Regions from separate parts of the Homo sapiens genome. Here regions 1, 2, 4, 5, 6 and 7 are each linked to region 3. Evidence: promoter capture Hi-C in 16 types of primary human blood cells and fetal thymus (Javierre and others, 2016). All regions are on one chromosome and are shown on one strand. Each heading gives the region's core, a stretch centred on a gene start or on the middle of the fragment in contact. The rest is flanking DNA. Distances are from core to core; before and after follow the strand shown.

Region 1 (3,178 bases), core at 272-2,771, 1.3 Mb before region 3:
AAAAGTACTTTCTGCTTTGCATTGAATGAATGTTTCTATTACTTTTAAGTGTGCTTATTTGGTTATTTTGAGAAGATTATCCTCTTGTGGTTCACTGGGGAAATGCCACACTCCTTTTAGGTAGAGTGATCATTTTTGAAGGAAATGTTGATTCTCAACACAACCCAGGTGGCAGAAGAAGGGAATCCTAGATTCTCTGCTGACCTGGTTATCTTGGTCTAGAGCCAGGTGTGTGTAATCTTTTGGCTTTCCTGGGCCACATCGGAAGAAGAAGAATTGTCTTGGGTCACACATAAAATACACTAACACTGATGATAGCTGATGAGCTTAAAAAATCACGAAAAAATCTCGTACTGTTTTAAGAAAGTTTATGAATTTGTGTTGGGCCACATTCAAAGCCATCCTGGGCTGCATATGGCCCATGGGCTGCAGGTTGGGCAAGCTTGGTCTAGACCTTGTTGAGGGGAGATGTCAATCAACATTTGTGGGCTGAGATTGCTTCTGCCCCTTGGAAGTGAGCTTGGGCTATGGCAGACCCATATACTGGGTCCCAGGCTGACAGTGCTCAGAAGATATTTGAGAGCACAATATCTAACTTCATGTGACTGCATGTGTTTATTTCCTTTTTACTCCCTAGCCATCATAGCAAGGCAAAGGTCATGATGTTGTTTTTCTCAACTTTTCTGCTTTAAAAAGTCATGTTTTATCTAATGCCTCCTGTTCCTGCTCTCCTTTTGTTTTCTAGATCATCTTCTCAGGTAATATGATCCTGACCAGAGGGAGATGGGTTGGGGCATCTATTCTAGTCCCCACCTGCCAGAATAGGTGTCAGGTGGCTCCTCACCACTCTACATCATTAGTGTGTACAATGGACACAGCATTATCTGAACTTCCATGGCTCTATGTAAAGCATTCCATTGTATTTTAATAATTACGCAAGACAAGGCCTCTTTCACATAAGGCAAATAAGTGTGATTGATTCAGACTTCTGGCATTACTGGGCCATGCTGCCGCAAGAAACAGGTGCATGTGGAATCAAGCCTGACGGAGTTATTGGTGTGCAGAAAAAAAAAAAGGTAAGCCAGTTGGTTTGTACTACAAAAGACTAAAACAGCTCGTCTGTGTATCCTACCACCTTCCTGTCCCCATTAGGCATATGGCAAGAGCTATCTGGTAACAACGGCCATCTCCTCCCGCGTCTCAAAGATGTTTTCGTGCAATTGTGTGCTGTCTTTCCCTTTTCTTCTTTTCTTAAAGTTTGTCCCTGTTATTCATTTTATTATTTTAGAGATAGGGTCTTGCTGTTGCCCGGGTGAAGTATAGTAGGCCAATCCTAGCTCACTGCAGCCTTGAACTCCTGGCCTCAAGTAATCCTCCTGCTGCAGCCTCCCCAGTAGCTAGTATTACAGGCACAAGCCACCATGTTGTTCATTTTAACCTGTCTTCACGTTTGTAACATTAGGGAATGCTTGATGCCAAGTAATTTATCCTGAGCCAACATCCCACACCTGCACTTGAAATAGCTTCATCCAAAGTGTATGATGGAAGACCCCTATTTAGAATGAAAGAAAGAGGGCAGACATAACCATGCCCCCATCTGCTGTATCTCGTGTTCGATAAGCCATCCACCACAACTTAAATTTTATTTCACTTTTTATTTTTAGGATTACTACTTATCTGGTTTTTAAAGATGAGAGTGTTTTATCTGATGCCCTGACCAAATGAAACAACAACCTAGACTGAAGCAGGGAACATTCGCTGGACATTTCAGGCACTGTGCTAGGCTCTACAGTGAAGCATTCACAGTCTAGTGGTGTCTATAAATAAAACCAAAATGCTAACTTTTAAATTCCTATGAGGAATATAATTGTAATGCCACTATAGCTGCATCACTACCATGGGGTCATTCTCTCCCTACAGACAGATCAATAAACAAAATCAAATTACAATCCAAAGGAAGCAAGGTGGGCAGAAATAACGTAGGGATTCATGATGAATAAAGTCATTAATCCTTCCATTTATTCATTCAACAAATATTTATTGTCTAGTGCTATTGTGTTTTTATTTTTAACTGAAATTACACTTAAAATTTAGAATTATGAAATGCATTTATTTAAAGATTTATAAGAGGCCTATCCACAAAACCATACTTACCAAAACCCTATAAAAATGTTTTCTATTCCTTTTGGAAATAAAGGTCAGTGGTGGTGAAGGTATATATTCAAATGAAAGAAAGTATAAATCAATACAACATTGATGCATACTCTGTGGAGGCAGCCACAAAATCCTCATCAGCTTGTTTATATCAGACAGATTTGGCCATCTTCCTGCCCTTTCATTATAGAAAAGTGAGTTGGGCCATAGCTATTGGCTGCTGTGAGGCCCACATTATGCACCCATTGTAGATGTATTTAATGACTTCTGCGCTCTAGGATTTTTTCCTACCTCCACAGGTAAGTTGAAAGTACATATTTGTTCACAGACTCATATGAGCCTTCAATAAAAAGTAATTGATAATCATAATATGGTGCTGAGCAAGACTTAGAGGCAGCACCTTGCGTATGTGTATTGTCATATATAAGTTAAAAAGGAAAGAAAAGAGAAGCTTTGTTCCAATAAGGATTTATTTCCACTAATGTAACTGTCAGTAATTTGCTGAGCATTTAAAAGACTGAACAGCAGAATTGATTTACTGTTTTTGCAACTGCTGCTTAAAAAAGTATGTTTATCCTTACATCATAAGTCAGCAACTCATTTAAAGTTTCAGCTTGAATAAAATATGATTCTAGGCCGGGTACGGTGGCTCACGCCTGTAATCCCAGCACTTTGGGAGGCCAAGGCGGGTGGATCACAAGGTCAGGAGTTCGAGACCAGCCTGCCCAACATGGTGAAACCCCATCTCTACTAAAAATACAAAATTAACTGGTCGCGGTGGTGCGTGCTTGTAATCCCAGCTGCTCGGGAGACTGAGGCAGGAGAATCACATGAACCCAGGAGGCAGAGGTTGCAGTGAGCCGAGATCATGCTACTGCACTCCAGCCTGGGCAACAAGAGCGAAACTCCATCTCAAAAAAAAAAAAAATATATATATATATATAATAATCATACATATAATAATCATTATATATACATATATATGATTCTAGACTCACAAGCTCCCAAATTCTTTTTGTGGGTC
Region 2 (3,370 bases), core at 156-2,655, 1.7 Mb before region 3:
ATAAAGCTTATTAACAGATACATTGCCTCACCAACTTTTCATTTTTCATTGATGAGAACATTAAAAAATTATTCTTTTAGCAATTTTGCAATTCTTATTAACTGTGGTCACCATGCAGTGCATTAGATCACTAAAACTTATTCCTGCAGTCTAACTGAAACTTTGCACTTTGACCAACATCTCCCCTTTCCCCATCCTCCCTGCCCACCGGCCTCTGGTGACTACCTTTCTACTGTTTCTATGAGATAAACTTTTTTAGATTCCACATGTAAGTGAGATTATGTGGTAATTGTTTTCTTGTGCCTGGCTTATTTCACTTGGTATCATGGCCTCTAGGTTAATCCATATTGTCACAAATTACAGAATTTCCTTTTTTTTTTTTTTTTTGAGACGGAGTCTCGCTCTGTCACCCAGCCTGGAGTGCAGTGGCACGATCTCGCTCACTGCAAGCTCCGCCTCCCGGGTTCACGCCATTCTCCTGCCTCAGCCTCCCAAGTAGCTGGGACTACAGGCGCGCCCGCCACCACTCCCGGCTAATTTTTTTGTATTTTTAGTAGACACGGGATTTCACCATGTTAGCCAGGATGGTCTCGATCTCCTGACCTCGTGATCCGCCCGCCTCGGCCTCCCAAAGTACTGGGAATAATTTCCTTCTTTATGGCTGTATAGTAGGCATATATATACAAGATTCTCTTTATCCATTCATCTGTCGATGAACACTTAGGTTGTTCCTATATCTTGGCTATTGTAAATAATGCAGAAATGAACATGGGAGTATAAGAAACAAATCAATGTTATGAAAATAGTCTGATTTTTAAAAAGCAGCAAAGGTTCTGAACAGTTATTTTTCAAAAAAAGACATACAAATAGCCAACAGGTATAGGAAAAAAATGCTTAATATCTCTAATCATCAGGGAAATGCAAATTAAAGACACAATGAGATGTCACCTTACACCTGTTAGAATGGCTATTGCCAAAATGATGAATGATAACAGGTGCTGGAAAGGATGTGGAAAAATGGAAACACTTGTACACTGTTGGTGGGAATGTAAATTAGTACAGCCATTTTGAAAAATAGTATGGAGGTTCCTCAAAAAACTAAAAATAGGCCGGGCACGGTGGCTCACACCTGTAATCCCAGCACTTTGGGAGGCCGAGGCAGGCAGATCATGAGGCCAGGAGATGGAGACCATCCTGGCTAACACGGTGAAACCCCGTCCCTACTAAAAATACAAAAATTAGCTGGGCGTGGCAGCACGTGCCTGTAGTCCCAGCTACTCTGGAGGCTAAGGCAGGAGAATTGCTTGCACCTGGAAGACAGAGGTTACAGTGAACCGAGATCGCGCCACTGCACTCCAGCCTGGGCAACAGAGCGAGACTCCATCTCACAAAACAAAGCAGACAAAAAAAAAACACACACACAACTAAAAATAGAATTACCATATGATCCAGCAATCCCACTTCTGGGTGTATATACAAAGGTATTAAAATTGGCGTGTCAGACTGGGCATGGTGGCTCACGCCTGACCCAGCACTTTGGGAAGCTGAGGCGGGCAGATCATTTGAGGTCAGGAGTTCAAGACCAGCCGGACCAACATGGTGAAACCCCGTCTACACTAAAAATACAAAAAATTAGCCAGGCATGGTGGTGTGTGCCTGTAGTCTCAGCTACACGGGAGGCTGAGGTGAGAGAATTTCTAGAACCTGGGAGGCGGAGGTTGCAGTGAGCTGAGATCATGCCATTGTACTCCAGCCTGGGTGACAGAGCGAGACTCTGTCTTAAAAATAAAAATAAAATTTGTATGTCAAAGAAATATCTGCACTCCCATGTTCATTTCAGCATTAGTATATAATCTTTTATGATATTTTCTACTTCATATTTCTTCACTGAATTGTAACATCTTTAAACTTCTTGAGCAGGGATTGTGTTTCAAATGTCCCTGAGACTCCCAGAGATCCTTAACAAGGATCTTGTCTTTGTACATGTTCGTGGAATAAATGAAAATCTTTCACTGGCCACAGTACTAATAAATGAAGATTAGGCCATCAAAAATGAGAAACACAATAAGAAAAGAGGAAATTAATAAAGCCTATGATTTTAGAAGGAAGCAATCTGAATATGAATCAGCTTAACATTTTACCCTAATGCAATGACCTGTAACCTGGGGGAGCTTAAAAATGTCAGTGTTCTCATGATAGAAATTATTTTCCATAAAACTCAAACTCTTTCCCAGAATAAATTTCTAGCAAACTTAGAAAAAGTATCCACTTTTTTTACCTTATTGTCTAGATAATTATAATGTTTTGTTTCAGATTTGTAAGCGATTTTAGAATAAGTAAATACAGTTTTATGTGTGTGATGTGAATATCACTGAAGTGTCCATGAGAATCTTTCAGGCCAGAAGGAAACTCCCTTTGCATGAGTTTGCTTCTTCAAATATACCTGCTCAGGCAATCGTCTCACCTGTGTTAGAGGCCATGAAATCACTGATTAGTCATTCATTAACTATTTAAAGAGCACCCACAGGGTACATAGATCAACCTTTGATTTCTGAAAGCCCAACTTCCCATTCATTACAACTTTGCTAAACAACATTAAATTTTTTAGAGATGAACAAGGTCACAAACTTGTTTTTCTAATACTAGTGATTATAACAATAACATGACTTAGATTTAATGCACACAGCATTTCCTGATGGAATTCTGATTACTGTGTAAATAACAGCGACTATTTTTTTTTTTATGACCAAAGCAGGAAATGGCTTGAGTCCAGTGTCTCAAAATGGTATGTGGGGATTTCTGTGGGAAGCTTCTCAGTACCCATACAATTTCTGTCATTGAATAGACTGGAAGAAAACAATTTAAAGGAAATAAATTAGTACAAAGAAAGGCTAAGTAAAAACCTAATGGGTTTAGTGCTGATATTTTTATTAGAATCATTCCTGTCATTAATATTTACTGAATATGGTTGCACACGTGGTACATTACTAGACATTTGTCTCAAGGTGCTTAGAATCATCTGAAGGGGGAAGACATGACACGTAACATCTTCACCTTCTTTACCTCAAATTCCTGAAAGCAAGCTGTATGCAGTCACTGACTTCACTTATCATTCACTCCTCAACTTCCCACTCACATTTTAACCCATGATGCAGTCTGGTTTCCAGCTCTACTCCCCTGAAACTCCTCTTTACATGGCCTTCCTATTGCCCAACCCAATGACCAATTTTCATGAAATCTCTGCTGCATTCTGACAATGCTGATTCCTCTCTCCTTCAATTCGATTTCCTGCACTCCAGCCTGGACAACAAGAGCAAGACTCTGTCTCAAAAAAAAAATGTGTTTTTTTTTTTTTTGAGACAGAGTCTCG
Region 3 (3,149 bases), core at 402-2,901:
TGTATTTTTAGTAGAGACGGGGTTTCACCATGTTGGCCAGGCTGGTCTCGAACTCCTGACCTCGTGATCCTCCCGCCTCGGCCTCCCAAAGTGCTGGGATTACAGGAGTGAGCCACCGCGCCCGGCCATGGAACCACACATTTTCATCAGAGGCCTACTAAGGTTGAGCTAGTCTGTATCCCAAATTATCTTAGGTATTGTTCTTCCATCAAAGCAGGGCTGAAGATGCTCTTCAAATTACTGCTCCTACTGACAAGCATTCTGAGGTAGCAGTTATTTCCGACACAGTTAATAGCCTACATAAGTATTCCTGATTACAATAAGCAGTCAGGTCCTAAAATAATTGTAAACATAATCACACTGCTTAGCAAAAAGGAATGGATTTGTGATATGCTTCCACTTTCGAGACTTTTTTGCACAAGACGCTGCTGCTGTTTAATCATTCTGCCCCTCCGTATGTTTCATAGAAATCCTTGTTACTGGCATGATGAAACCTGACTTAAAATCTACGTAAGAGTGAACGCGGTCATTCAAATTAAAAGCAACATTCCAGAAGGCACTGGAATATGGGGAAAAGAGAAGCAAGTATGAGATAAATTTTTAATGAATGATTTCCAGAAGGCTCTCAAGGCTTTTAATTTTGTGCTAAAGCAACAGAAATTCTTATCTCTGTAGAACTATGTCACAGGGAACTTACGACTTTTTCCTTAGAGGGACCAGTAAGGCTGTGCTTCCACCCTGCAATAGTGATGATGATGTGTGTAACAGAAATAAATACTGCCCCAGAAAAGCTTAAGGTTTCTGAGCATCTCAAAATCAAATGAAAACTCCCTCTACTAAATCAAGCAATCCTGAATATAAGGGTGGCTTGGAAAGCTGCCTGTTGAAACTCCAGCGGTCAAAGTATGATTTGGGGGGGAAACGCGCACATGCAATCAACAAAGTAATCAATTGAACTTGCATCAAAGTTCACCAGGAAACAACAATCTGGAAAAAGAGAAAAAAAGTGATTTGATTTGAAGAGCACCGAACAAGTGCTGAAAAGTAGAGTTGGAAATTCACCCTAAGTAGGTTACATTTTGGCCACAGTTCTGTGGAAACCCTAAAAGAAAGTCAATCTGTATTAACAAAAATTCGGAAAACTTCATTCACACTACGGCCGTCCCACCGCGCTGTCGACATCCTCCCCGGGAATGCAGGGCCGCGGGCCGGCAGAGGTCGGTGCGAACGCAGCGCGGAACCGCGGGCGCCCGCCTGGACCGCGGCCGCCCCATCCAGTAGGGGAGGAGTAGCGGTGCGCGCGGCCTGTGCCGAGGCAACGCGGGCGCGTCCACCTGGCGACTGCGCGCCCCGGCTCCTCCAGTACCCGCGGCCCCCAGACCCCTCGCCGCGCGGCCCGTGCCAGCCGGGCCGCATCCCCGACGCGCAAAGCCCCGGCGGCCGTGGCGGCCCGGACCGCGGGCCCGGGGCGAAAAGAGGCTGTGTTGCCGCCTCGCCCTCCTTTCCCCAGCCCCAGCTACTCACGTGCCAAATGGCGAAGAAGATGAGCGCGGCAGTGAGCAGCAGCGCCAGCATGTAGCAGAAGGCCGCGAACGTGAACGCCATGGCTGGGGAGGAGGAGCGGGGAGCGGCGCCGTTGCCAGCGGAGAAAGGCGGCGCAGGGCCCTCTGGGTAAAACCATTCACTTCCCCCGGCCACAGCCGCGACCGCCACCGCTACCGCCGCGGCGCCAGCCCTCTCAGCGCGCCTGCGCACCAGCCCAGCCGCCCCGGCGCCCTCTGATGGCCGGAGTCTGCGTTGCACTGACATTGTCCGCACAGTTGTTGATTGATTTTTCCTTCCTTCTTGCGTTTATTCTTTCAACAAATATTTATTGAATGAATGCCTAGTTTGTTACAGGTACCGCGCTTCTCGCTTCAGATACAAAGATGAATAAGATAGTACCTGCACTGAAAGAACTTAGTATAGTGCCGGAAATGAACACCTAAATAAATAATTACGTTATTATAACCCCGTAAACGGATGTGTGTGGGATGCTCTGAAAGGTCAAAGAAGGACAGCCAGCCCGCCCTGGAGCATTTAGGCAGGATTCCTGCTGTAGGTGTTTCCTAAGTTGGCCTTAGATGATGATAAGTTCTCCAGGCAAAAAGAAGGTAGAACTGGCAGTCCAAGGAAACAGTTCAGAATGAGGAAACGCAACAGAGATGGAAAAAAGAAAAGAAAAATAAAGCTTCGTGTCTCAGGTGAAACCAGCAGCAATTCTGTATTAATGGAACCTAAGTGCAAGACAGTGGTGAGACTTAGAAATGAATTAGCAAGGGATCAGATCATAGAGGGCCTTATAATGCTTCATTACGGAGCTCAGACTTCTTATCCCATAAGCCCAAATTTTTTGCTCACCACACACAACTAGAAAGATTTTTTTCATTGCAACCCAGTGGAATATCATACAGACATCAAGTTATGAAGAGGTGGAAATCTAGTTATAGAGGCAAAGAAATATAGATATGACCAAAACAAAAATTTCACAAAACTGTACTAATGATCCATAAGTACTTTCCCTTCTCTCTTTTGCTACTTGTTTTTAATGCTGGTCTTAACACACAAAATTGATTCAAAATTGATTTAACTTTCCATTACAACCATTTTTAAAAGAAAAAAACTCTATTAACTGATTGCTGCTGATGGAAGAGAAAATCATTGAAGGCTTTTGAGCAAAAGAAGACCATGTTTAGATTTGCATTAAAGATCGTTCACCTAGCAAATTGCGTAGAATAGTTTAGAAGCAGGGTCTGTCCAGTGCTGTGCAATAGAACCTTCTGTGATGGTGAAAATTTTCGATACCTAAACATTGCCCAATACAGTAGCCACTAGCCACATGTGGCCATTGGGCACTTGTAAATTGTCTAGCATGACTGAGGAACTGAACTTTAAATTTCACATCACTTTAAGTAAAATGTGGCTAGTGTATTGGACAGTACAACCTGTACCACCAGGATTATGTGGCACCTGTGTGCAAATTATCAAGTTACTTTTGGCCAGGCACAGCAGCTCATGCCTGTAATCCTAACACTTTGGGAGGCCAAGACAGGAGGATCACTTGAGCTCAGGAATTCAAGACCAGCCTGGACAAGGTAATGAGATCTTGA
Region 4 (3,321 bases), core at 1-2,500, 1.9 Mb before region 3:
GGGCAAAGCATATGACAAAGGCCAGCCTGGACAATATAGTGAAACCTCGTCTCTACCAAAAAAAAAAAAAAAATCAGCCGGGCATGGTGGCTCCAGTGCCTGTAGTCCCAGCTACTTGGGAGGCTGAGGTGGGAGGACTGCTTGTGCCCAGGAGGTGGAGGTTTGTAGTGAACTGTCACTACAGCCTGGGCGACAGAGCGAGACCCTGCATGAAAAAAAGGAAAAAAAAAAAAAAAAGCATAGGACAAAGGATGGTGAGGTAAGAAAAGCTGGGTCTTTGTTGCTCCAATAAACGTAGCAATGTCTTTCACAAGGATACTGAATTCGTAATGTGCTGTGTATTCTAAAGAAAACAAATTATTTCCTTTTAATTTTGCACTACTTGCTAATCTTATTTCCAAATAGGAAAAAAAAAAGTCAACAACTATGTGCCGGCCCAATATACGTTAGTCGATCTGATTATTCCTCGGTTCTTCACAGCAGTAACACAGCATGTATTTTCTCTCTCAGGCCCAGGAATAGCGCCACCATCTACCATACACAGGTCCAAGGCTTCGATACATGTGGAATTTAAACAGTACAGAATATTCTACTTCCTCTCCAGGCAATCATCATACTTACAAGTCTGTTTCTGCCTTTTTCCCAAAACTTAAGCCCAGAGCATCTTCCCAAATTCTACGTTTGAAAGAACCAGCTTCCCCCTGCTCACAGATCGCTTCAACATCCATCTGATACTACTACTACTCTTCCTTAAGAGACATTTCCCTTGGCCTTGGGAGGAAAGGGTCTTTCACTTAAGAGCTCCGATTCTCCCCGTCGCCCCTTTCCATCCCCTCGACCCACAAAGGGCTCCGGTGTTTCCCGCCGTTCATGCAGCGAAAAGAGAAAGCAAAATGCCCTCAGGAGGCTCCAGGTGAGGCCCTTCGGTGCCCCAGAGACGGGTGTCTTAAGTCAGACTCCGGAGCTGTGCAGTGCAGCCCTGGCTACAGAAAGCTGCTTCGTCTGAATCCCCGGGTCTGCAGGCAGAGCCCACAGCCTGAAGGGCCAGCGCTGTCACCTACCTGCCCGGGACCTGCGGGCGGGGACCTGGGCCGTTCCCGAGGCCGCGCGGCCAACAGTTCCCGCCGCCACGCGACGGAGGAGGAGGCAGAAGACGGGGCCGTGCCAGACTAGCCGGGTAGCCTGGAACCACTTCGCCAACCTGCAAAGGCGTAGCACTTCTCCCTCCCAGCCTGCAGCCGCCACCGACTCGGCGGAGTCGGCCTCCTGGGAAAAAACAACCTGCGAAGCTCCTCCTTCTCCTCGTGCTCCCTACGCGAGGCACTCTCTAACCAATGGGAAACGTGGTGGGCGGAGCGAGAGTGACAGACGATTACAGAGTCCTCCCGCCGGCGCGAACGGGCGGTGCAGTAGCAGGGCCAATCAGCAGCGTGGGTGGGAAGTACAGGGGCGGGAGAAAGTAGGGAAATTACGCGCCCAATCAGATCTCGGGGCCCTCGAGCGACGGGTCCTGCGGCCCGTGGCCTTCCGAGCGCGGCGCTCAGGGGGCGTGCCTGCCTGGGCCAATCGGCGCGAGCCCACAGTGCGGAGCGAGCGCCTCAAATGCTCGGGTTTCTCAGCTGATTGTCTCCAGCCGAGAGTTGTTTTTTGCAGCTACGGAGCCGAGCCGCAGCAGGAGGAGCCGAGACCCCCGGGGGGTGGGGGGAAAGAGGAGGCGGGGTCCGGGGGAGCCGCGGCTGCTTTGCGCTGGACTCCGGGTCCCGTCACGGCGCTTCCTGGGGTTAGAGGCTGGGGTGGGTGGGGGGTAAGGGGGCAGTCCTTCTCCCCTTCGACGGCGGCTCCGAGTCCAGCCCCTTCCTTCCCGCGCTCGCTCGCCCGGCCCCCAGCCCCCTCATGAGGGTGTCCGTGCCGGGTCCGGCGGCCGCTGCCGCCCCCGCAGCCGGCCGCGAGCCCTCCACGCCCGGCGGGGGCAGCGGAGGCGGAGGCGCCGTCGCTGCAGCCTCAGGCGCCGCGGTGCCGGGCTCCGTGCAGTTGGCGCTGAGCGTCCTGCACGCCCTGCTCTACGCCGCGCTGTTCGCCTTTGCCTACCTGCAGCTGTGGCGGCTGCTCCTGTACCGCGAGCGGCGGCTGAGTTACCAGAGCCTCTGCCTCTTCCTCTGTCTCCTGTGGGCAGCGCTCAGGACCACCCTCTTCTCCGCCGCCTTCTCGCTCAGCGGCTCCCTGCCCTTGCTCCGGCCGCCCGCTCACCTGCACTTCTTCCCCCACTGGCTGCTCTACTGCTTCCCCTCCTGTCTCCAGTTCTCCACGCTCTGTCTCCTCAACCTCTACCTGGCGGAGGTAAGGCGGGAGGGCCGGCATGCGGGGCCCGGGCGGGTGCGCGGGGCCGCCGGGATCAACTCCCGCTGAGGACCAGCGGGGGCGGGGGGTGGGCAGCGAGAGGCGGACTGGAAACCAGCCTGGGGAAACTGAGGCACACCTGGAGTGTGAGCCAGTGTTTTCGCCTTAAACTTAAGTGGCTGATTGGCTTGATTACTGAGGGGTTCGGGCTAGGGGGTGAGTGAGTGAGTGTGTGTGTCTGACAACTTAAAACAGCAACGGAACGAACCCTTTGTTCGGTGTTCTGGCCCTCCGAGGTAAGGCGTTGGTGGCACCAACAAAGTGGCATCGCAAGAAGTAGCAGCCCCGGTGGCTCTGCCGAAGCCGGACTGTGTTGAGGGAGGTTGGATGCTGAGGTAGCAGCAGCTCTGCTGAAGCTGGACTGCTGCCAGCCATTACGTCACCAGGCAGAGCTGTTCCTCTGCTATTGTTGCTGCGTTTCTTTTATTAGAAGCTTATATTCCCTCCTGCATCTCCTTTCCTGTGGCTCGATAAGCCTCACATAAATTTCGTTCGATAGTTCCCCAGCAGGGTTGATGATCAATAACCAATGCTGAGGATCAGGATAAGGACCTCCATAAAGCCCTTAATGTTTGCCCCAGTTGCTTCGTGCTTTAGCGGTTTATCCTACCTCCTATTAGCATAGTCTTTTTTGGAGCTAATTAAGAGAAAAAAATACTAGCTTAACCTGTGCCTATTGCAGAAACAAAACCACCAAACTGTTTTTGCAATAACTTGCTTAATATCTGGAACCTAATCACACCCCCTTTCTCTTTTATGGGGAATTGCTGGTTGGATTGCATTGTTCTGCAGCGCTTAGGTATTTGACCCATTTCAAACAGGTTTGGGAGTGTAAGGTTGTCAATCATGTGTGTCAGCTTGTGGTATTTAAGCCATAATATTTTAAGACTTTCCCCCAAAAAAGTCCTCCTTCCCACCAAAAGA
Region 5 (3,438 bases), core at 530-3,029, 1.7 Mb after region 3:
ATGCAATGCAACGCACACAGGCACAGCAGGCCAAGAGAGAAGGAAGGAGGTAATGGTAGCCTAGAGAGCAGAAGCAGCAACAGAGGAGGCCTAGAGAAGCTAGGGTGACAGAGGCAGGCATCATCGTAATCGTGACGGCGCAACTGCAGAATGATTCTGACAGATCTTTGATAGTCATACAATCTATGTGGTAAGTAGATGCACAGAGTACATGAAGACAACATTAATCCAGCAGAAATTTGAAAGAAATTTACATCAACACTGGGGAGGAGACATGATTTATCCCTTTAGTGAAGGAGTGCTGGTTAAAACTGTAACAGATTTTTTATTACATATAAAAAATATAGAGAATACGTAATATATGCAGAATAACTAATATTCATTTGAAATACAGAATTTCTATAGTTAGCTGAAATAAGTTAACTGTTTAATAAAGTTTATTTTTGGCTTACCAGTGGTGTGGCTTTAGTTACTTTGGAATAATTTATTTCTAAAACCTCAATTAAAAAAATCAGTTCCTAACTGAAGTAAAATTATCAGAAACATCATGTCACTACCGTAATAACCTGTCAGAGAATGTTACACAAGGGGTGCAGCACAGCGGAATGGAAGGTTACAGATGCAATTATTATTTTTTCTAGCCCTTTGCTTCGGGTCATAGCCAACCAGTCACTATACACAGGGTAGCTTCTGCAGTATTTATTTCTTTAAATATTTAACAGTGTTGAGAGGCAATGACTCGCAATAATATGTAGAGTTTCTAGCACATTATGAGTGCTTAATAAATGTTAGAACAATAAAATCCTGTATGATGAAAAACAGCAGTCAGTAAAACTATACAGTCTACGATATTTTAAAGCCATAGCAATAACTAGTTTAAAAAGAATAGAAAGCAAACAGTGCATTGATTAAATCACGGTCATAAAGGAACATTTACGTTCACTAAAAAGTCCACCCAGGTAATTTCCCCTTGTATGTATTAGGGGATGGAAAGAAGGCACAGGAAAAGTGGATAAAGTATGGATTAAAAAACAACTCTTCCCCCATCCCCCCGCCACCCCCCAAAAGCCAGGTGGAGCTCTATTGACCACAAGCCGGGGTAGCTACATCCAGTGCAACGGTGGGGTGCTCCAAGCGCCTTCGAAACGTCCTCTACGCCAGCACCAACTGGCAAAACCTTCTAATTTTCTAGACGCCTTTCTGCTTGGTTTTGGAAGGGGAGGCACCCAAGTGGGTGTGTGCGACACCTCTAGTTGTAAGCCGGGACACAGTGACGTCGAGAGAGCGCTATTCTACTCGGAGAGGAAGTTAATCCCATCGAACTCCAGCCAGGAAAACGTGGGCTTGGGAACCGCGGCCGCTCGTTTCCAGGATCTCCCGCGGGCCTTCGCGGCTGAAGAACCAGGCGGCGAGGGCTGAGGACCCCGCGCTCTAAGTTTGGGGAAGGAAGTGAGGAAAAAAAACAGAGCTGCTCCTTTAAGAACTTCCTTTCCCTTTTACTCTATGTTTACATAACACAGGGGCCGAGCCTCCGCCGGGCCGAGGGGGGCGGGGAGTGGGCGCGGACGGCCCCACGCGCCGGGGGAGGGGGCGCCCCGCGGGCCGGGGGCGGGCGCCTGGCTCTGCGTGGGGCGGGGCGGCTCCCACCTGCCCGCGCGCTGGCCCCCGCCTCCCCCGCGCGGCCCCAGCCTCTCGTGCGCCCGCTCCCTCCTCCTTCCCTCCCTCCCGCGGGGCTTCGGCGGCGGCGCTCAGCGCAGGCAGGTCCCCCTGCTGCCGGGTCCCATTTGTTGCCGGCTCTGACTCGGGGCGGCCGCGGCGCGCGGAGCTCCGGGGAGTCAGGCGGAGCAGCCGCGCAGCCACGACGGAGCAGCAGCGGGACTGGCCGCCCCGCGCCCCCTTCGCCGCCGTGCCCTTCCCCGGCGCGCTCACCCCGTTCTCGGGATGGGATTGTAGCGGCGGCGCGGACTCGGCGGGGATCGCGGCGGAGGCGGCGGCGTCGGCGGCGGCGTCGGCGGCCGAGCGGGGCTCCATGTTTTCCCCTGGCCAGGAGGAACACTGCGCCCCCAATAAGGAGCCAGTGAAATACGGGGAGCTGGTGGTGCTCGGGTGAGTCCTGGGGTCCCTGGTCCCGGGCAGCGGCGCGGGCGGGGAGCGCCCGCATCCTGGAGCGGGGCTGGCGGGGTGGCTCGGTGCTCTTTGGGGACCGCCGGGGCGCTCGGGGCGGCAGGAGAGGCTCTCAGGGCCCGGACGGCGGCGCGGGGGCGGGATGCGCCCCATCGGCGCGCGCTCGGGGTGCTGCGGCGGACGCCGGGCTGCGCTGTCCGCGCGGAGGACGCGGCGGAGGAAGTGGCCAGAACTCGGGCGACCCAGCGGGGGCAGCGCCGGGCACCGGGTCCGCGGCCGTATCGTGGGGGCGGGGGCAGGGGCTCCACTTCCCGCGCGCCGCGTCCGGGCCGGGGAGGGCGGGCAGGGACTCCATGTGAGGCGCCGCGGTCGCGGGCGCTTCGCGGGGTCGCTTCCCGAAGCTGAGAGGCCGGCCGGCGCGGAGCCCCGTCTTCCCACCTCCCTCGCGGACCGTGGTACCCGCGCCCCCGAACTCCGAGCGCGGCGCCGTGAGCTTGGGCCGCCGCGGGCTGTGGGATCCCCGGCTGCGCTTTGCAAATTGTTCCGATGACCGCCGCGGGCCGCCGCAGCCCGAGAGCAGTGAACTGTGTGTGACCCGGGCCGGCCGGCCCTCCGCTTCTCCCCGCTTGGAGTGCTCTGGAGGGGAGGGACAGGATGCGGCTGCTCGGGGCCTGGCACCGGGGCGCGGGCCGTATCCCCCCGGTCCCGGCCTCGCTGATGCCCTCCCGGCTGCGGGGAGCTCGCCAGCCTCGCCCGCCTCGGCTCCCTCTCTGCTGGTGAAAGCCGCATCTTGAAGATAGTAATTATGTACAATCGTTAAACGGCAGCAATTAGAGACTTCATCTACTTCCTGAGTTTCCTTGTGACATTTCTATTGTTTACCCTTAATAAGCCAGGAGAGAGGCTTTGCGGGCTTAAAACTGGATATAGTGGGCAGTGAAAGGGGAGGGGGAAGGGGGAAGTGCAGGAAACTGGGGGGAAGGAACAACTTGGGTTTAGTGTTGAAGAAAGGATTATTTTTTCCTTTGGATGTGTCGCTCTGGGAACCCGCGCTTTTGTCCTTCTGCGTTGAAAGACCTGTATTCAGAACATCCTCGGCGCTGATAGGTAGGCTTAGCACACATATGAGGAGTCATGGCTGTGGGAAGACTCAGGGAACTTTGCAAAACGTGTTTTGATAAGTGAGTGCCTTGAAGTAAGTGCTGACTTAAAAATAATTTAAAGAGAGGAGTTTTTGAGGGAAGCTTCCAGACACCGCACAACTCAAAGCTTCCCAGTCTTCCTGACTTTGTTGCTAGTGCATTAAGTGGGGGT
Region 6 (3,307 bases), core at 91-2,590, 1.7 Mb before region 3:
ATTGTACAGTTCTATTTCTATGTGTTGGCAGTGCATTTTATGTGACAAAAAGTAGAATGTAGGGGGAGGTTTAAGTCAAATATCTATGTGATCTTTTCACTTATAATTTGCATTTAGTTAAGGAGTGACTATCTTGCCTTTTACCTTTGTGCTGGCGGTGGTTTTTTAAAGAATCAATTTGGTGTACAAATCCTTTCTTTCTTTTTTTATTTTTGATTTTTTTTGAGATGGAGTTTCGCTCTTGTTGCCCAGGCTGTAGTGCCATTGCACTATCTCAGCTCATTGCAACCTCCGCCTCCCGGATTTAAGCGGTTCTCCTGCCTCAGCCTTCTAAGTAGCTGCGATTACTGGCATGCGCCACCACACCCAGCTAATTTTTGTATTTTTAGTAGAGACGGGGTTTCTCCATGTTGGTCAGGCTGGTCTCAAACTCCCGACCTCAGGTGATCCACACGCCTCAGCCGCCCAAAGTGCTGGGATTACAGGCGTGAGCCTCCGCGCCCGGCCCAAATCTTTTCACCATGGGTTTACAGGCATAACGCCACCACACCCAGGGAATTTTAAAATTGTTTTTTAGAGAGGGGGGTCTTACTATTTTGCTCAGGCTGGCAAACTCCTTTTAAAAGATATTGAAAGCCATCTGGTTTATTATTTTTATTTCAAAATATAATAATGGAAGAAATTTTACAGTATTATATACAATTTACTGAGTCAGCTATCAGTTCCTTTTTCTGATTTTTTTCTAGTTGCCATTCTTGATATTTTCTAGGTAATCTAAACTGAGTTGTATTTTCAAGTACTCTTAAAATACTTTAAAAAATTTTAAATTGAGCCGTTTAATTCTTTGCTTAAAGGTGATGGGTATTTTATTTTCTGTATGGCACCACGTGATTTTAAATTGAACTCTTCATTTATTAGTCATTTGGTTATAAACTCAGCATAGATTGCGCAGAATTTTGAGAGGGGAGAAACTATAGCTTTCCTTTCGGATGCCACTGGTGGGTAGCCTGTTTTGCCTGTTTGTTCTTATGTTAAAGAAGGGCTCTACGTCCTGTCTGGAAAGGGCGGAGCTGGCTCGGACCGCCCCACTGCCTTTCCCAGGACCTTCACTCGTCCTGTCCCACCGCAGCCCCGCCTCCTCCACGCCGGGTGAGCTGTGGCCTAGCAGCATCCGAGGCTCCGCCCCCCCCACCCCCAAGCGTCTGCGCTCTAGCGAAGGGGCGGAGCAGGGCGGTGGCGCGCTGACACCTGGCGGCGGCGGAGGGCGGGCAGAAGGCGAGCGTGGGCTGGGATTGGCTGAGGCGACGCGGGTGGAGGGGGCGGGAAGGAGGCGGGGAGACGGTTGTCGGGCTGGTTCCTGTGCTGGATCCTGGGCGGCCTGAGGGGTACGGAGACTCTGGGGGAGGGAGACGGCAGCGGCATGGCGGCCGGGTGTAAGACGCCCGACCCTCCTCTTCCCTGTCTTCGCCGCCGCCGCTGCTGGAGTCACTGGGACCCTGTAGTCTGCGTGTGTTAGTTGTAATCCCGCCGCCCTCCTGTCAGCCCTCCGCTCCGCCGGCCCTCCTTCCTTCCGCCGCCGCAGCCAGCCCGAGGGTCGGCCGGCTGTGTAACACTCTCCCACCCCACCCACCAGCCCGCGGGCCAGCACCATGGAGGACGTGAAGCTGGAGTTCCCTTCCCTTCCACAGTGCAAGGAAGACGCCGAGGTGAGTCGCTCCCGTGGCTGCCACGCACAGGCCTCTCCCTGTGGCTCCGGCCGAGGGGCGACCCCAGTCCCCAACCGTCTTAGCCGCCACCTGTACGGGCGCCCTGCCTCCTAAGGGCGTCCCGGGACCTCTGAAGCCGAGCGGTCGGCTCCAATCCCCACTGAGTTGCTCGTCCTCTCCAGACCCCGCGGAGGGGCAGCGTCTGGTGTACTTACATTTGAGAAGAGGAAAAGCAATCCCTTAGTCCCTAGGCTTGGCATCCAGGACTGACCTGGAGTAAGGTTCCTCTTTTATTGTCAAAGTAACAAGAGAGCGAAGTTGGTTTAGTCTCCTTTTGAGGAATATCTGTGGTGTAAACGATTCACTTGTGGGACACATGGCCCCACATGTGAAATAGACTCGGCGCCTGAAGTTTGGAAGCGCGCCTTCGAAAAGTTTCCCAAAGTTTTTTGTTTGTTTTTAGACAAAGCTATGACCCGCACAACAAAGTGTCTCAAAGCTAGCTCATCTTAATCTGAGAACTCTTAATCAGAAATCTTGACCTTTGGAGGAAAATTAATATTGAAAGTAAAATACTATATACCTTTTCTCCTGGTTTCTAATTTGTGGCTATTTTTACTCCACCTTAGATCCCTGCCTGCTGTTTCTACTCGGATTTTTTTTCATCTGTTGCTAGTTTAACATTTTACGGCATTGCAGACTACTAAATTAGAATTTTCTGGAGGCTAAATTAACAAGACGAAGATACTCAGCTATACTTTAGTAGGATTAAGAAAGAAAATCTAACATCGCTAGTTAAAAATACCTTTAAAGTAGTTGGGAAAAATAAAGCCCTATTTTTAGGAGACCATTCAATTTATTCCGAATATTTATTCTATTGAATATCTTCATTGGAGGTTCACTTTTTTTTTTTTTTTTTTTTTGAGACGGAGTCTTGCTCTGTCGCCAGGCTGGAGTGCAATGTGGCGCGATCTCGGCTCACTGCAACCTCCGCCTTCCGGGTTCAAGCGATTCTCCTGCCTCAGCCTCCTGAGTAGCTGGAACTACAGGCGCGCACCACCACGCCCAGCTAATTTTTGTGTTTTTAGGGGAGACGGGTTTCACCATTTTGGCCAGGGTGGTCTCGATCTCCTGACCTTGTGATCCGCCCGACTCGGCCTCCCAAAGTGCTGAAATTGCAGGTATGAGCCACCGCGCCCGGCCTAGGTTCACATTTTTGTTTGGAGGGCTCTCTTGTGGTATTGATGCTTGACAATTACATTTGTTTTAAGAGTAGAGACTTTGTTTGTGACTATCACTGTTGCAAAATGTAGTGCAGTGGTGTGATCTCGGTTCACTGCAGTCTCGAACTCCCATGCTCAAGCCATCCTTTCACCTCAGCCTCTGGAGTAGCTGGGACCATGCCGGGCTAATTTTTCTTTTTTTTTTTTTTTGTAGCGATGGGTTTTTTCTCCAGGCTGGTCTCGAACTCTTGGCCTCAAGATCCTCCCGCCTTGTCCTCCGAAAGTGTTGGGATTACAGGTGTGAGCCACTGCACCTGGCCCAAGAATATACTCATGGTTTTTTTTTTTTTTTTTTTTTTGACACAGAGTTTCACTCTT
Region 7 (3,386 bases), core at 476-2,975, 1.7 Mb before region 3:
CACTTTGGGAGGCTGAGGTGGGTGGATCACCTGAGATCAGGAGTTTGAGACCAGCCTGGCCAACATCGTGAAACCCTGTCTCTACTAAAATTACAAAAATTAGCCAGGCGTGGTGGCAGGTGCCTGTAATCCCAGCTACTTGGGAGGCTGAGGCAGGAGAATTGCTTGAACTCGGGAGGCGGAGGTTGCAGTGAGCCGAGATGGCATCATTGCACTCCAGCCTGCGGAACAAGAGCAAGACTTCGTCACAAAAGAAAAAAAAAAATAGAGATAGGGTTTTGCCATGTTGCCCAGGATGGTCTTGAACTCCTGACCTCAGGTGATCCACCCACCTTGGCCTCTCAAAGTGCTGGAATTACAGGCGTGAGCCACCACTCCTGGCCCAAAAATGTTTTATCAGATTTTTGTGATCATTTGTTGGTGTTCCTCTCACCGGTTTGTAAGAGCTCTTTTTATATTATGGAAATCTATTTATAGCCTACCGATTTGAAATATCATTTTTATTTTATACCAAATTCTGATATGTCCTTTAGAAGTTTGAAGTTTTCTTTTTTAAGGTGCTTATGGAATGGCTAGTTCTAGTTTTTGAACCGTTAATATGGTGACTTGAGTTACTGGATCACATTAGATTGGATTTCCTAATATTGAATCATCCTTTTGGTCCAGCAATGGATCCCACTTGGTTATGATAGACTGTTCTGTTAATGTATTGCTGGATTGTATTTGCTAATCTTTTTGTTCAGGATTTTGGAATCAGTTAAATAGTAAATTGGTTTGTCTTTCTTTTTTTTTTCTGTACTATCCTTTTCTGGTTTTACTATCTCTGTCACAGTGTTCTCATTTTTTAGTGGAAGCTTTCCATTTCTCTTTGTGCCATGGATCAATTTAAATTAGATTGGAGTTACTTGTCTCTTAATGCATTAGTATATGGCACCTGTGAAATATCTGACCATAATGTTTTATCTAATTCAGTTATTCATTATTTCATTCATTCATATATTTTGACAATAGACCAGTTCTCAGACAACATTCTTCATTTGGTGTATCGGTTTGATTTTTTCTTTTCTTTCTTTCTTTCTTTCTTTCTTTTTTTTTTTTTTTTTTTTTTTTTTGAGGCAGAGTCTTCTGCTCTGTTGCCCAGGCTGGACTGCAGTGGTGCAATCTCAACTCACTGCAACCTCTGCCACCTGGGTTCAAGTGATTCTGCTGCCTCAGCCTCCAGAATAGCTGGGATTTACAGGTGCCTGCCACCACAACTGGCTAATTTTGTATTTTCAGTAGAGACGAGGTTTCACCACATTGGCCAGGCTGGTCTCAAACTCCTAACCTCTGGTGATCCGCCCGCCTCGGCCCCCAGAGTGCTGGGGTTACAGATGTGAGCCACTGCTCCTGGCCTGGTTTGATTTTCTGATACCCCTCAGGTCACTTTGGATGTATTTATGATCTTCTGTGTAATCATTGATTTCATAAGAGTTCTACATAGAATTAAGGAAAATAATATCTTGTACTTTAATATCTTTTGGTTCTATTATTTTTTTTCTTCATCTGGTTAGTCCATGTTGTTTTTCTGTATTCTAATTTCTGCTTCCTTGGTACTTTGCTTTAGTGTTGTTTGCTGCTGCTGTTGTGAATTTCCTGAGTTGAAAACTTGGTTTCTTTTTATTCTTTCAAAAATTCAAGGCTATTAATTATCCTCTTTGCATTGTGTTAGTCGCATGCTGCAGATTCTCATCTGCATTATTTTTATGTTATAGCTTGATATTCTGTGATTTCAGTTTTGGTTTCATTTTTTATCTAATATGTGTTGAGATTTTTTTTATTGTATAGGTGACTGGGTTTTAAATTTTTTATTTTTGTTCATATTTAGTTTTATTACATTGTAATCACAGAATGTTTTGTAGTACTTGTATTTTTTGATGTTTTCTTTGTGGTTTAATATGTAGTTGTTTTCATGAATTTTATGGGCATTTGAAAAGAAGATGCATTCTGTTTTCAGGGGATAAAGTTAAATGTATTTGTCCACTTGATCTGTCTTGGGCTGAAATCAGTGAATTGAAATCTTTTACTATATTGTGTTTATTTTTTCTTTATTTCCCCTTTTTTGGTTCTGCAAGTTTTTTTCTGTACTTAACTATTTGGTACATAAAAATTCAAGTTAGGTTTTTATTTTAGTTGTACCCTGTTTAAATTTCAGGGTTTTTTGTTGTTGTTGTTGAGACAGAGTCTTGCTCTGTGGCCCAGGCTGGAGTGCAGTGGTGCGATCTCGGCTCACTGCAACCTCTGCCTCCTGGGTTCAAGTGATTCTCCTGCCTCAGCCTCCCAAGTAGCTGGGATTACAGGCATGCATCACCACGCCCGGCTAATTTTTGTATTTTTAGTAGAGACGGGGTTTCACCATGTTGGCCAGGCTGGTCTCGAACTCCTGACCTCATGATCCTCCCACCTCGGCCTCCCAAAGTGCTGGGATTACAGGTGTGAGCCACTGTGCCTGGACAAATTTCGGTTATTTTACCTTGCAGTTAACCTCGTTTAATATTGTGAATCCTACTCTTTCTGTTCGCTTGCTACCTTTTGAGTTTTCCCATTCCTTTTCCTTCAAGCTTTCTAAATCACTTGATTTTAGATGCTTTTCCTCAGTGTAGTCTAGGATTGAGTTTTGCTATTAGATTTGGTATCATTGTTTCCTAATAGGTGAATTTAACCCACTTTCATTTACTGAAAATGACAGATACAATCTTATCTATTATTATTTCATATTATGCTTTCTGTTTTAAATGAATCCTTTTTTTAACCTTCTGCTATAGTTTAAAATTTTTTGGTGTGTTTATGTTTGTTACATAATTTTTAAGGTTTTATTTATTTACTTTTCCTTTTTTTTTTTTTTTTTTTTGAGTTAGAGTCTCACACTCTTGCCCAGGCTGGAGTACAGTGGTGTGATCTCGGCTCACTGCAACCTTTGCCTCCTGGGTTCAAGCGATTCACACACCTCAGCCTCCCGAGTAGCTGGGATTACAGACATATGTCACCACATCCAGCTAATTTTTGTATTTTTGGTAGAGACGGGGTTTTGCCATGTTGGCCAGGATGGTCTCGAATTCCTGAGATCATGTGATCCACCCGCCTCAGCATCCCGAAGTGCTGGGATTACGGGCGTGAGCCACGGCGCCCAGCCCTTAATCCTACATTTAAATAGGATTCAGCCAATCCTATTACCTGTTCCAGTGTCTTTATTAAACTCTTGGACTTTATTAAGAATAGTTCATGGAAACTATATTCCCATGGAAACTATCCCTTTGCATATTGGAAAATATTTTTCTTTTGCCCTTATATTTGAATGACAGTGGCTAGATATAAAATAGGTATTTAATACTTTTTCCCTAGTGATT

What was found. The method cuts DNA at HindIII sites, captures the fragments that hold promoters and counts their contacts. A CHiCAGO score of 5 or more calls a contact.
Region 1: a contact is called between a fragment that was not itself captured here and the fragment with the promoter of CNIH1 in region 3, in 3 of 17 cell types (M1 macrophages, M2 macrophages and fetal thymus). The highest score is 9.0, in M1 macrophages.
Region 2: a contact is called between a fragment that was not itself captured here and the fragment with the promoter of CNIH1 in region 3, in 3 of 17 cell types (M2 macrophages, M1 macrophages and neutrophils). The highest score is 9.1, in M2 macrophages.
Region 4: the fragment with the promoter of TXNDC16 here is called in contact with the fragment with the promoter of CNIH1 in region 3 in 1 of 17 cell types (neutrophils); the score reaches 6.3 in neutrophils.
Region 5: the fragment with the promoter of PELI2 here is called in contact with the fragment with the promoter of CNIH1 in region 3 in 1 of 17 cell types (non-activated CD4 T cells); the score reaches 7.1 in non-activated CD4 T cells.
Region 6: a contact is called between the fragment with the promoter of STYX here and the fragment with the promoter of CNIH1 in region 3, in 1 of 17 cell types (M1 macrophages). The highest score is 6.2, in M1 macrophages.
Region 7: a fragment that was not itself captured here is called in contact with the fragment with the promoter of CNIH1 in region 3 in 1 of 17 cell types (M1 macrophages); the score reaches 5.8 in M1 macrophages.

The regions. Positions count from the first base shown.
Region 1 is chr14:53,155,498-53,158,675 of GRCh38, forward strand. DDHD1-DT (DDHD1 divergent transcript) reads left to right here. Exons shown (of 3, transcript NR_110062.1): 2 at 746-1,076; 3 at 1,665-2,031. Among named protein-coding and RNA genes, the nearest start is that of DDHD1-DT, 3.7 kb to the left of the region's middle. The HindIII fragment of the contact is 2,163 bases long and covers 441-2,603 here.
Region 2 is chr14:52,698,300-52,701,669 of GRCh38, forward strand. No RefSeq gene overlaps it. Among named protein-coding and RNA genes, the nearest start is that of ERO1A, 4.4 kb to the left of the region's middle. The HindIII fragment of the contact is 2,803 bases long and covers 5-2,807 here.
Region 3 is chr14:54,439,723-54,442,871 of GRCh38, forward strand. It overlaps CNIH1 (cornichon family member 1), which reads right to left and starts at 1,652. Exons shown (of 5, transcript NM_005776.3): 1 at 1,525-1,652. The coding sequence starts at 1,605. RefSeq lists silencers at 1,126-1,175, 1,186-1,545, 1,586-1,855 and enhancers at 1,261-2,059, 1,936-1,995. The HindIII fragment of the contact is 1,439 bases long and covers 790-2,228 here.
Region 4 is chr14:52,551,255-52,554,575 of GRCh38, forward strand. It overlaps TXNDC16 (thioredoxin domain containing 16), which reads right to left and starts at 1,251. Exons shown (of 21, transcript NM_020784.3): 1 at 1,062-1,251. It overlaps GPR137C (G protein-coupled receptor 137C), which reads left to right and starts at 1,582. Exons shown (of 7, transcript NM_001099652.2): 1 at 1,582-2,337. The coding sequence starts at 1,894. RefSeq lists silencers at 1,772-1,841, 1,852-2,051. The HindIII fragment of the contact is 4,024 bases long and covers 1-2,828 here.
Region 5 is chr14:56,116,632-56,120,069 of GRCh38, forward strand. It overlaps PELI2 (pellino E3 ubiquitin protein ligase family member 2), which reads left to right and starts at 1,780. Exons shown (of 6, transcript NM_021255.3): 1 at 1,780-2,106. The coding sequence starts at 2,030. RefSeq lists an enhancer at 1,168-1,407 and silencers at 1,538-1,597, 1,638-1,897, 2,188-2,257. The HindIII fragment of the contact is 3,737 bases long and covers 1-3,366 here.
Region 6 is chr14:52,728,826-52,732,132 of GRCh38, forward strand. It overlaps STYX (serine/threonine/tyrosine interacting protein), which reads left to right and starts at 1,341. Exons shown (of 11, transcript NM_145251.4): 1 at 1,341-1,706. The coding sequence starts at 1,650. RefSeq lists silencers at 1,026-1,485, 1,556-1,635. The HindIII fragment of the contact is 7,384 bases long and covers 1-3,307 here.
Region 7 is chr14:52,761,797-52,765,182 of GRCh38, forward strand. All of the region lies in intron 9 of STYX (serine/threonine/tyrosine interacting protein), which reads left to right. Among named protein-coding and RNA genes, the nearest start is that of GNPNAT1, 28 kb to the right of the region's middle. The HindIII fragment of the contact is 1,746 bases long and covers 853-2,598 here.